Linked DNA regions of Homo sapiens: regions 1 and 2 are each linked to region 3. The links are contacts of gene promoters, found by promoter capture Hi-C in blood cells and fetal thymus (Javierre and others, 2016). All regions are on one chromosome and are shown on one strand. The core of a region is centred on a gene start or on the middle of the fragment in contact, and the rest is flanking DNA. Distances in the headings are between cores, read along the strand shown.

Evidence for each region. The method cuts DNA at HindIII sites, captures the fragments that hold promoters and counts their contacts. A CHiCAGO score of 5 or more calls a contact.
Region 1: a fragment that was not itself captured here is called in contact with the fragment with the promoter of AFDN-DT in region 3 in 1 of 17 cell types (endothelial precursors); the score reaches 6.3 in endothelial precursors.
Region 2: a fragment that was not itself captured here is called in contact with the fragment with the promoter of AFDN-DT in region 3 in 4 of 17 cell types (endothelial precursors, M2 macrophages, megakaryocytes and 1 more); the score reaches 11.1 in endothelial precursors.

Annotation. Positions count from the first base shown.
Region 1 is chr6:167,472,279-167,476,917 of GRCh38, forward strand. It overlaps LOC105378127 (a long non-coding RNA gene), which reads right to left and starts at 512. Exons shown (of 4, transcript NR_134591.1): 1 at 456-512. RefSeq lists an enhancer at 2,433-2,946. The HindIII fragment of the contact is 3,360 bases long and covers 127-3,486 here.
Region 2 is chr6:167,492,041-167,496,345 of GRCh38, forward strand. No RefSeq gene overlaps it. Among named protein-coding and RNA genes, the nearest start is that of TTLL2, 170 kb to the left of the region's middle. RefSeq lists an enhancer at 833-1,740. The HindIII fragment of the contact is 6,893 bases long and covers 1-4,305 here.
Region 3 is chr6:167,825,516-167,829,724 of GRCh38, forward strand. It overlaps AFDN-DT (AFDN divergent transcript), which reads right to left and starts at 1,281. Exons shown (of 2, transcript NR_027906.1): 1 at 1-1,281. AFDN (afadin, adherens junction formation factor) reads left to right here and starts at 1,396. Exons shown (of 34, transcript NM_001386888.1): 1 at 1,396-1,722. The coding sequence starts at 1,618. RefSeq lists silencers at 365-434, 1,349-1,548 and enhancers at 1,019-1,088, 1,119-1,198. The HindIII fragment of the contact is 3,865 bases long and covers 1-3,807 here.

The sequences.
Region 1 (4,639 bases), core at 557-3,056, 350 kb before region 3:
CCCTCGCAGGCACTGTTCACAGTAGGGTTTGTGCTGCTATGAGAATCTAATGCTGCTGCCGATCAAACAGGAGACTGAGCTCAGGCAGTGATGCCAGTGATGGGGAGTGACTGTACATGCAGATGAAGCTTCACTGGCTCACCAGCTGCTCACCTCCTGCTGTGCAGCCTGGTCCCTAACAGGCTGCAGACCAGTACCTGAGACTGGGTAATTTATATAGAAAAGAGGTTTAGTGGCCCACAGCTCCACAGGCTGTGAGGGAAGCACAGTGCTGGTACCTTCTCAGCTTCTGGGGAAGCCTGGGGGAGCTTTTGTTCATGGCGGAAGGTGAAGCAGGAGCAGGGGTAGCATAAGAGCAGGAGCAAGGGTGGGTGTATTGGTCCATTTTCACACAGCTGATAAAGACATACCCAAGACTGCACAATTTACACAAGAAAGAGGTTTAATGAACTTACGGTTCCACATGGCTGGGAGGCCTCACAATCATGGCGGAAAGTGAAAGGCACATCTTACCTGGTGGCAGACAAGAGAGCTTATGCAGGCAAACTCCCCTTTATAAACCCATCAGGTCTCATGAGACTTACTCACTATCATGAGAACAGCACAGAAAAGACCTGCCCAGTGATTCAATTACCTCCCCCTGGGTCTCTCTCACAACTGGTGGGAATTCAAGATGAGATTTGGGTGAGGAAATAGGCAAACCATATCAGTGGGGGAGATGTCATACACTTTAAACTATCAGGTTTCCTGACAACTCATTAACTACTAGGAGGACAGCACCAAACTATGAGGAATTTGCCCCCATGACCCAAACACCTCCCACCAGGCCCCCCTCCAATGTTGGAGAGATGACAGTTCAGCATGAGATTTGGCAGGGACAGTTACCCAAAGCACTGCAGAATCTGACTGAACCAGACTGTGTTAAGTGAGTCCCTCACACAATCAGTCAGAATGAAGTGGCTCCCGGTGCATTGAAAATAAGTCCAAATTCCTTGCAAATCCAAGGGGGAGGTGTGGCAGGTGGCTTTGTGGCAGGTAGGGACCCTGGGCCTGCAAGGAATTTGGATTTATCATCAATAAAATGGTCTTCTTTCTCTTGCTTCACCCACTGGCTCTTTGTTATGTGGACTGCATTCCTTTCTTTGCTATTTTTGTATTCTTTCTCCCCTTTTCCCCATTACTGGAAATTTCCACAGCAGAAGAGAGCCCAGCAGTGACTGAGGGGGAAGAACTAGCTGTTAGAGCTCTTCTTAGAAACTGGGTCTGGTTTGGGAAAGAGGGTGATGGTGGGGAAGGCGACAGGTGGGGCAGAGGGGAGGGAGGATGATGAGGGAGAGGCTGAATGGGTGAGTTAAGGACCTGTCCCAGGTGGCAGCTGGGCCACGGTAGAGCTGGACTCAGACACAAGCATCCCACTCTTGTTGTGTGTCCCGTTATGCACCCAGCACTGCTTAGGAGAATTGCTGTCCTTTTATTTTCACTAAGTTGAGGGTTGATTGACAGCTATTTTTGGTTCTGCTAGGAAAGGAAGCTGTCAATGAAAGCAGGAAGGTGATAGTTCCTGGGATCTGAACACAGCCACTTCTGTCTCCTGTATCCTGGGCAGGAGTGGAGTTGTGGGACCACTCGGTGTCCAGCCCTATACCCTACACAGCTGTGGGTGTTTCTGCCTCTTTTGGAATGGGCCAGTCCTGATGGTGTCAGTCTTTCAAGAAGGGTCCCGGGCTTCGGGCAAGTCAGGTCTCCGCCTTCACCAGTGACCCCAGTTCTGGCGGCTGCTGTCTCTGCACTGGGCCTTCCACCTGCTGAGAAGCACGGCTGAATCAATGTGTCTTTTCTCATCAATGATATTTAGAAGTGCGGGAAAGGCATTTAATGGATTCTGATAGATTTATTTCCTGCGTTGCTGACTCTATGTATGAGATCAGTAAAATGGGAGGACTTTGCGGTTTTTTTTCTGGGAGGTTATTTTGATTGTCTGACAAAAACGTTAAAGGAGAGAGGTGGCGTTAGTGTATTCCCTCCCCATCCCATGAGGGTTTGACCCATGAGCAGCCCCGTGCCAGGGCTGTCGTCTGCAGGTGACTTACGGCATCAGCAATGCAGGCCCCATCAGAAGGAGCCACCTCACTGCATTCCTGGTGCCCTGAGATGCCTCCAGCCACTCCTCTATTGCAGAAGGCTTTCTCCTGGGAACTTTCTTCTTGAAATGCAGATAGTTCAATGGTTCTATGGTGAGGCTGGGCCGTTTCATGACAATTTTCCCTTCACAGTGCTTTGGCTATCCCTGCAGAGTGAGGTTGAGGAGACACAGCCTCAGCCACAGCTCTGGAAGGGCAGAGCCCTTGCTCCACAGACCCGAGGCTGTGAGGATGGCCCAGGAGGGAAGGAAAGGCCCTTACCAGGGAGATGGCTGAACCAGGAAGGCAGGGGCAACAGCTCATTGCATGGAAAAGGCCACCCCTCTGGGCATGGGCACCACCACCCTCTGGGCCTGGCTGTTTCTACCTGGGCCTCTGTGCCAGCATCACAAGCATGCAGGGAGGGATGCACCTACACAGCAGCCAGTGCCCTCAGGAGGCAATTGTGGAAGGTCCAGATTGCAGGTGACCTCAGCCTGCAGCCGACTTCAGAACCCATGTCTGCTGAAGTTGGTTCCACCTCAGCCCCACAGCCTGGGAGGAGAACCCTGCCCAGAGGCAGGGCCCAGGGCTTCTCTCGGCACCAGGAGGCACTGCCCTGCCAGGGAGAGCACAGAACTCAGAGTGCAAGTATTTCCTTCATAGAAGGCTCCAATCCACTGTTCATACTGGCATTTCGAAATCAGTGTTCAGAATCCATGCATTCTTTAAAAAAAATCCTAAACCTTTCAAATGCAAAATTTATAAACAGGATAGAAATAAAAAATGTACATTTGTAAAAGTAGAAATATGAAGTATGTATTCTTTATAACTACCTATGAATAGATATTTCTTAAATGTGCTAAATGCTACACAAAAAAGGACAATAAATTATTAATGACAAATGAAAATGAAATATTGTTATGTATTTCTTAACAGTGTGATCTTAAAAATCACAGTGCATCTACAATGATATTTTTGTAACAGAAGCATATGTTCGGTCAAGTTTTCACATGTGCAGAGAAAGCTCTTCCAATATTCTCAAATCAGGCATTTATTTATCTTCATCTTTTTTTTTTTCTTTTTTGAGACAGAGTCTTGCTCTGTCACCCAGGCTGGAGTGCAGTGGCGCCGTCTCAGCTCACTGCGGCCTCTGCCTCCCAGGTTCAAGCAATTCTCCTGCCTCAGCCTCCCAAGTAGCTGGCATTACAGGTGCCCCCCACCCTGCCTGGCTAATTTTGTATTTTTAGTAGAGATGGGGCTTCACCATGTATAGATAGAGATTCTAATGTAGGATGGTGGTCATGCTGACTTTCTACTGTTCCAAAAGTATCTGGAACCATGAAATAATTATTCCTATAACAGAAGCTTTGCTTTGTCCATTATCCTCGTCTTCCTCCTCTTGAAGATTTTGAAGGTATAGAAGCTTGCTTTCTAAAAATATTTTTCTTGGTTTGATTTAAACATTTTAAAGCAGTGTTTAACATCATGGTATTACTTCACGAAACAATCAGTAGTTCAGGATTCGGGGTGATATCCTATGTATTTAGCACCTAGTCCCACATGGGCAGTGGCCAGTCAGAATGAAGGCCAGCTCACTGCCCTGGCTACCAAATACCGAGGGTCACTTAAGCACCAAAGGCCTGGCTGAAACCTGCCACTGCAGGTGGTATCACGTGCAGGGGGTATCACACTGGCAAGACACCCAGCAGTATTGAAATGCTAAAACCAGGGCCAGCATCCTCAGGATCAAATTTCCTTCACCCTGACAACTGTCAACACTTCATGGCGACCGTTTTCCTGGAAGCCTGCCTGTGCCCCTGTGACTCCCGCGGATTTGCTCAGGGGTCTGAGGAGCCTGCCCCGCTCCCTGCTCCTGTACCCCTCGGTTTGTGCCTGCATTCTGACTTTCATCACTTCACTCCGCAGCTATGCTTTTGCTGTCCATTTCTTCCTCCTCTCTTCTGCTAAGCTGTTATGCACTGAAGGTCGACAGAGTAGCGAGATTTTTATTTGAATCCTAAGTAGCTGACATAATACCTGGCACATTGAAAAATGCTCTGAAAATGTTGGTATTATGTTCCAAAAGTTCCAGGAGATTCCAGGAAGACATTTTTCAGAGATTGTGGAATAATAGGAAAGTGAAAAATGGCATTTTTACTATGTATTAAAATTTATACTTTATTGCTGTTTAAACCACCATAACTAAGATAAGGCATATATAATCCATGATATCCTGCCTTCAAAAGTAAAACAAATACTTCCATTGCTTTTGGGGGCTGGGGCTGCTTATTCTTACCCTTGCTCATTGCCTTCAGAGAACACTCGAAGAATTATTTCCATAGCTGTGGAGCTTCCAGGTTGTCAAGTAGTTCATGACTTCCAAAAGTTACATTAACGTAACAGTGGCCAAAAATCACATTTACCTATATGTGTGATTTTTTTTAATCTCTGGCATTTTTACCTTAAGCAGATGGAACTACACTTAGCTATAAAATATCAAGTGTCACTTAGACGCC
Region 2 (4,305 bases), core at 682-3,181, 330 kb before region 3:
GCCTCTTCTCTCTTCATTCTTCCTCCTTATCCCTGGCACTTGCCAAGCGGGTGCCAGCGTTTGCCGCCTCTCTCTGAGACCAGCCCTCCTTGGGCGGCTGCCTCCCCTTGCCCCATCTCAAACAAAGACACAGCAGCCGAGAAGACAGCCGGGCGGGTGGAGTGGGAAGAAAGCAAGTTTCGTTGGTTTTTCCAGGATTAACTCAGGGCTGGCTGGGTTGAGTAACTGAGGCCAGGTCATGGGTAGATCTGGCCGAGGGACTTCCGAGGTTTTGTTCCTGGGTGTGTCTCTCAGGCAGTGGGAGGATGGTGGCGCCGTCACCAAGCCTTGCAGCAGGAAGAGGAAGCCCCCACGAGGGAGGATAATGGGGAATTAAAGTCCCTAGATCCGCCTGGGAGGCTTGGGGACCTTGCCTGATGGGAAAACTTTGGTGTAATTTTTTAAAAAACAGAAAACAGGATTTTGTTTTTTCTTGCTCTTTTTAAATGAAAACATCAGTGTTTTTCATCAGGAGCACAACGGGCGTTTTCGGCAGGACAGGTCATCTGCAGACCCTGTGCTTGTACTGCAGGAAGCCTGGTCTCGCTGGGGCCTCTCAGGTGCCGGCAGCACCAGACTATTGCAAAAACTGAGGCACCCCAGTAGATGTTACTAAATGTGCCTAAAGGGAGCAGACTGCCCGCCCCTGAAAACCTGAACTCGGGTTATTTAAAAGGCTTTTTATTCACTGTTTGTAAAAACATAATGTCCTCTAGAAAGCCTGTTTTTCTGATAAGGCATGAAGAGGGAGGATATTAATTCGCATATTGATTGACTACAGCATTGAGGTGTCCCTTCTCCCCCCGGGGGATCGGCTTGCTGGGACAGCTCTGGGAGTCCCCGAGTAGTCACCTTTGGATACCATGTTGGCAGAATCTCAGGTCAGGATGGAGGAGCCTCTGATAGGCATTGAGTGGCCTTTAAATGACCCCATGCTGCTTCAAAGCCCACAGGACTAGTGTTTGCTTTTTGAAAAAATGACTTTCCTACATGTTCTCAGTAAAGAATAGAATCCACACACACTCCCATGCGCACACACTCCCATGCACACACACTCCCATGCACACACTCCCATGCACGCACTCCCATGCACACACACTCCCATGCACACACTCCATGCACACAGTCCCATGCACACACTCCATGCACACAGTCCCATGCACACACACTCCATGCACACAGTCCCATGCACACACACTCCATGCACAAAGTCCCATGCATGCACTCCCATGCACACACACTCCATGCACACACACTCCATGCACACAGTCCCATGCACACACATTCCCATGCACACAGTCCCATGCACGCACTCCCATGCACACACACTCCATGCACACACTCCCATGCACACACACTCCCATGCACACACACTCCATGCACACACTCACATGCACACACACTCCATGCACACAGTCCCATGCACACACTCCCACGCACACACACTCCCATGCACACACACTCCTATGCACACAGTCCCATGCACACACTCCCATGCACACACAGTCCCATGCACACACACTCACATGCACACAGTCCCATGCACACACAGTCCCATGCACACACTCCCATGCACACACTCTCATGCACACAAACATCCATGCACACAAACATCCTCGCACACACCCTCCCATGCACACACATTTTAGAAACGTGACCAGTTCCTTAGGGTGCTCTCCTTTAAAAGGGCAACAGGAAGGCTGGGGGTCAGTTGTGCAGCCTATACTTACCCTCTTCTGTGACCAAGAGCTCGGGGGTCCCCAGCTAACCTCCCCTACTGCTTTAGATATATGCATTTTTACTCATCTTTGATATTTTGGAAAAGACAACATGTTCCATGCAAGTCCCTTTGAATGCTGCCCCTGCAAGCCAGCTCAGAGGGAACACGCCCCTCCACACCCCCCGCACTAGGCCTTGGGTGCGGCCCGTCCGCCTCTCACAGAGCAGATGGCTGTGGCTCCCTCCAAGGCAGAGGTCACCCCGCCTGACCAGAACCGCTTGTGTTCTCTGGAGTGAATGGGACATGAGCGTAACAGGGGCGGGGAAGGCGGGAGAAGGGTTGAGGGGAATGTGTGGGATCTGCCTCCATCGAGCTGCAGGCGCGGGTCTGAGCCCTGATAGCAAGTGTGAGGGCTGGTGCTGACGCAGGGCTCCCCCGAGACCCAGTCGGGTGTGGAGCTGCCTGGGAGGAGGCCTGAGGGGGTGGGGGAGGCTAAGAACAGGAGAAGAAGCAGCTTTTTCTCATGATGGAGCGGGAGCTAAGAACAGGAGAAGCAGCTTTTCACATGGTGGAGTGGCGGGGCGAAGAACAGAAGAAGCGGCTTTTTCACATGATGGGGGGAGCTAAGAACAGTAGAAGCAGCTTTTCACATGATGGAGTAGGGGTGGCGAAGAACAGAAGCAGCAGCTTTTTCACGTGATGGGCCGCGGTGCTGGATTTTGTGCCAACCTGACTGGGCTGCGGGTGAAACATTATCCCGGGTGTGTCCAGAGGGTGTTTTGGGCGAGATCAGCATTTGACTCGCTGCACTAAGTAAAGTGGGTGTCCTCCCTGATGTGTGTGTGTGTGAGGGCTCATCCAGCAGCAGAAACCTCAACAGAACACGCACCAGGAACCCCCTGACCCCCGGAGGAGAGGGGAGTTCTTCCTGCCTCATAGCCTTCGAAGTGGGACCTCGGCTTTTTTCCTGCTTTTGAACTCGAGCAGAATCTTAAGTTCTTCTGGATCTCAAGCTGCTCCTCCAGACTGAAGGACCCCCGCGCCTCTTCGGGTCACCAGCTGAACCTCACGCAACAGATCCTGCGACGCACCAGCTACGGGGATAGTGGAAGCCGTTCCTCCCAATCAGTGTGTATCTGCCTCTCCCAGTGGTTCTGTCGCTCTGGAGAACCCTGACCAGTACAGCAGTGAGGTCCCATCATGCAGTTTCATGGGAAACAGAGGTGACTGGGCCGGAATGTGTCACACACACACACTCACACACACACATACATACACACACGCATACACACTTACATACACATACACACGCACACAGAGAGACACACATACACATATACACACTCACACACACAAACACGCTTATACCCAGATTTACACACTCACACGCGTACACTTACACACATTTATACACACATACACACATGCTTATACGTACACACTTACACACAAACACTATACACACATACACACACTTATACATATACACACATACGTTTATACACACACATATACATACACACACGATACACACATACACATACACACTCACACAGAGACACGCATACACATGTACACACACACAGTTATACAGAGATTTACACACACAAATACACCTACACACATGCTTATACACACACACTTATACACAAACACATTTATACACACATACACACACTGATACATACACACACACACACATACACTTATACACACACACACACACATCTGGGTCCACCAGGAAGAGTTGAGAAATTCTTCAAGGGTGCTAAGAAGCTGATGGGGACCGTGGCATTAGCTTGGAACACTTGTCATTTGGACCCAAAGTCACATCCACTGCTGAGCCCGAGGCTGCAGGAACAGTGGACCTGGGTGAGCAGAAGGCGAGGCGGAGTCCAGATCTTTCCCAGGAAAACATCACCTGGCGTTGGAAATGAAACGCAGCCCTTCAGCGGGCTCACCTACAATCAGGCACTCCAGCATTAGCTGTTTAGAGCCAGGCTACCATTTCCTGGATTCTCTTCTGTTTTCCATACCCGGAGCTTTCTTAGTTTTTTCTCTGGGTTTCATGAATTCATCAGTGGCCAGGCATTGTTTTATCAGATGTGCCAAACGCTGATAAGGACACAGTTCGCCCTTTCTATTTGCATTTGAATTCTTTCTCTGGTCTGACTTCTTGAGCCAGCAGGATTTATTTCTGCCCTGGCATCTGGTGAGCCGCCTCCCGGCGGCTGCTGCCTTCCTGGGTACATTTCAGTCTCCAGGCTTTTCTAGCCACAGGGACCCTGGGGACATCTCCAAGGCAAGTCCTAATATAGCTCATTTCATCCCTCTGTCAATGTCCTCCACGCCTTGAATAATTATCATATGAAAACCTTTGAGAGCAGAGCACCCCTGATTCTGATTTTCCCCAGCTAGATAGATTCCCACGCCGTCTGTCTTTGAGCCAGCTCTGGGCCAGGGAGCCAGGCAGAATTTGCAGAGAGGTTCTCAGTCACCCACCCTGCCCCTGAACTCAACAATGAGACCATCCAGCCGGGGCAGCT
Region 3 (4,209 bases), core at 31-2,530:
GCAGATAACGATGTGTCTGAGAGAAGAGGCGTTTTCTAAGGAGACACACAAAGGGAGTGGGACCCTCCAACCTCACTCTGTGAGAGGAACACCGCACAGCAGTGTGGGGGCTCGAACACCCCAAGAGCGGCAGAGCGCGGTTCAGAAAACATGACCCTTGAAATGCACACAAAGCCTAACAACGTGTCCTCCGCGGAAGAAAACAGCTTGAAAAGGTCGGCTTTGAAGTGACCCAGCGGAAAGGAATCACCCTGGAAGAAACACGCAGCAGCCCCGGGGCAATGCGCGGGCAGGAGGAGCAGCGAGCGCGGGGAGCGCAGGGCCCTTCGGAGAGGGCGCTCCACCGGCCCTGCGCTCCGTACCTGTGCCGCCACGCCCACCGGTCCCCTGCTGAGCCTAGCACCGCCCATTTAGACCCAGCACCACCCGTCCGGACCGAACCTAGCACCGCCCGTCCGGACCCAGCAGCGCCCATTTGGATACTGCACCGCCCGTCCAGACCCAGAACCGCCCGTCCGGACCCAGTACCACCCATCGGACCCAGCGCCGCCCATTTAGACCCAGCACCGCCAGTCCGAACCGAACCTAGCACCGCCCATGGGACCCATCGCCCGTTCGGACCCAGCACCGCCCGTCCAGATCCAGCACTGCACCCCCATTTGGATCCAGCACCGCCCGTCCAGACCCGGACCCGCCAGTCCGGACCGAACCCAGCACCGCCCATCGGATCCGGCGCCGCCCATTTAGACCTAGCACCACCCATCCGAACCGAACCTAGCACCGCCCATCGGACCCACCGCCCGTCTGGACCCAGCACCGCCCGTCTGGAACCAGCACCGCCCGTCCACAGATCCATCACCACCCATTTGGACCCAGCACCGCCCGTCCCCGCCCGTCCGGACCGAACGCAGCACCGCCCATCGGACCCAGCAGCGCCCATTTAGACCTAGCACCGCCCGTCCGAACCGAACATAGCACCGCCCATCGGACCCATCACCGCCCGTCCAGATCCAGCACCGCCCATTTGGATCCAGCACCGCCCGTCCGGACTCTGCACCGCGCGTCCGGACCCAACACAGCACCACCCATCGGACCCAGCACTGCCCATTTAGATCCAGCAGCGCGCGTCCGAACCGAACCTAGCACCGCTGGTCGGGAAGGAACCCGGTACCGCCGGTTGGGACCCACCACCGCCAGTCCAGACGGAACCCTAGCACCGCGCGGGGCCCGCCCTCCGACACCTCCCTCCCTGGCGGCCGCGGCAGCAGCACCTAGTGGAGCGGCCCGGAGGTGCGGCGGCGCCGCGCGGGGCGGCGGCGCGCACGGCGGGCGGCGGCGCGCACGGCGGCGGGCGGGGCGCGGGCGGGTGCGGGCGGCGGGCGGCGGGCGCCGGGCGCACACCGGCCGGCGGGGCTGAGGCGGCGCGGCGCGGCGCGGACTGAGCCCCAGGCGGAGGCCAAGTCGGAGGACGCGGCGCGGCCGCGGAGGCGGAGGCAGCCGCGGAGGCGGAGGCGGCCGGCGGGGGGTGGCGAGGGGCGCCGGGCCCCCGCGGACCTGTCGTCCTCGGCCCGTCCTCCGGCCCCGGCCCCGCGCGGCTGAGGAGGCGCGGCCAGGACCATGTCGGCGGGCGGCCGTGACGAGGAGCGGCGGAAGCTGGCCGACATCATCCACCACTGGAACGCCAACCGGCTGGACCTGTTCGAGATCAGCCAGCCGACCGAGGTGAGCACCGCCGGGCGCGGGGCCTGCGCGACCCCCGCCCGCTGCGCCGCGCCCCGCCCCTCCCCCCCGCCGCCGCCCGCCAGCCGCGGACCCGCCCTCCTTTCCCCCTCCCCCCTCCGCCCCTTCTCTCCCCTCCCCCTCCCCCAGGCCCACCGCGGGCCCCGGCGTCCCCCGCAGCCCCCGTCCCCCTGCCGCGGTGTATCCCGGGGTCGCGCGGGCCGAGCGGGGGCTGGCGGGGCGCGGCAGTCACCTGTTCCCCTCTCCGGCCGCTCACCTGGTGGCTCACCTGGGCCGCCGCCCCCACCCCCGCGAGCGCGGCGCGGCCCCGGCCTCATCCCCGGCGGCGCGGGGGGCGCGGCGGCGCGCGGGGCCGGCGCCCTCCACCTGCAGCCCGGTTGTGGCTCGCGGCGCCCCTTCGCCGTGGCCGGGATGGAGCCTGTGACGCGCGCTGTGCTTCGGGTTCATAAACTTGCAGGCTGCCAGCTGGGAGGGGAAAGTCAGTATCACAAAGTTCGGGAGGTGCGGGCTGCCTGATGGCACAGGCCCGGAGTCGGACGCCTCCGAGGAAAGGCGCGCCTTCTCCACCTTCGGGGCCGCGAGGAAGGGCCCTCTGCGGCGGCCTCTGCCCGGAGGGAGGCGCCGGCCCCAGGCTGGCTCCCTGAGAGGAGGAGGAAATCACGCTCGCTCCTGGCCTGGTAACAATGGGGGTTGTTTATAGCAAAGCTGCTGAAAGCGTTCCGAGCAGCTTTTAAAAAAATGTTTGAGTCCAAGTCCACTAGGAAGGGCTCCGTGGAGAGGGGAGGGAGGTGAAGGGTCGGGGAGCAACCCTGTAAATCGCTCCGCAAGGGTCGGTTCCGCGCTCTGTTCATTCGGTGGCTGCACAGACTTTACCAGCATAAAAAAATTTCACTCAATATTTGTGCCCGTTTAGGAAATCATTTTAATAGCGTCTATTTTTGATTTGTTGTAATAGGTAATTTATAGTTAATACTTGCTATAAAATACTAGCTCCTAGGCAACAAAACATGTTTGGCAGATTTGAACATTCTTACGAAATGTAATCCTTTTATCATTAAATTCCACTTTATGTTTTTGAGAGAATTTGACTATTGCTTCTCTGATTTCTTGAGTTTTTGCCAGTCATGGGAAGGACTCTATTTCTTCTGTTTTCATCTGTACCTGTGACTGCACTTGACGTGGGTAGCTAGCCATTTGTCTTAATACTGAGTTGAATACTGACACACGCCATTAGGCTCAGGTTGTCAATTTGAGCATAGATGTTATGTTAAGTTACTCCTGATTCATTCATCTTCTGTAATGATTTTATGAGTTAGGTTCTAGTAAGGGAGTTAGTACTATGTACTTAAGTGTTCGTTCATAGACTAGTGTATCTTTAGAAAGGTGACATGATAATTTAGTTTCAGGATTATGTTTTCTTTTAGAATAATGAATTCATTTTTCTTTTTATCACAAGGTAAAAAAAGTTGACCATAAAACATTTTCTTGGTGTGTAGCTTTTTTTTTTTGTTTGAATGGATTTTTTTTTTTTTTGAGAGATTTCTCAAGTCTGGTGGAAAGGAATCTTTTTTCGGTTTAATAAAGAGAATTCAGCTTTTTGGGATTTTGAATTGAGTTAGCATTAAAAAAATCTCAAATCAGAAACATTATAGTTCATTGATTTAATTAAATTCTATTTTAAGCACTCAATTGAAACTTTTTATTTCTTAGTGATATGACTAGTTTTTAAAATTGGCCTGTCATTTGGAAAGCTGTTTTTTCAGTTATACTGTAGGTGAAAGTTTGCTTTGTACATACACTGAAGCAAAACAAGAATTGAAGGACTTGGAAAAAAAGATGATATATTTCATTTCCTAATTTTTCTCCCTACTTATATCTGAACATTTCCATTTTTAGAAATTATTCTTCAGAATTGTATTAGAAGCCTTTCATAATGAAATGAATGGTTTTTAAGAATGTCCATATATTGGTTTTTTAGCTTTTTTACTATATAGTGGCTGGCTCACATTTCTATTTTGTTTTCTCGAGAACTTTCCTGTACTATTAAATTTATTCTGGTCCTAGTTAAGCTTTGCATTTAACATATTGTATCTTTTATTATGATGTAGGTAAACTTAATATGAGTAATTCTCTCAGCCAGTATTTCAAGGCCAACAGTTTCAATTTGCTTTGTCTAAGCTCGTGTGAATTTTTTTTTTTAACCATCTAATGATTATTTTTACTCTATTTGGCCATCACAAGTCCAATTTTTTAGTTTTCTGCAAGAACAGAAGCATTGTACTGGTCCTTATCAGATGTTCAGTAGATGTTGAACAAATTCACTGCAGGAGTTGATTTGTAGAAATAAGATTTAAGCCTTGTATTTATTTACTTGGGTAATCTTTTTATGTGTATGAGAGTATAGTTGTGGGTTTTCTTTTGTTGTTTTTTTTTTGGGTACAGTGATAAGTATCTGTTTTCAAATTTTAT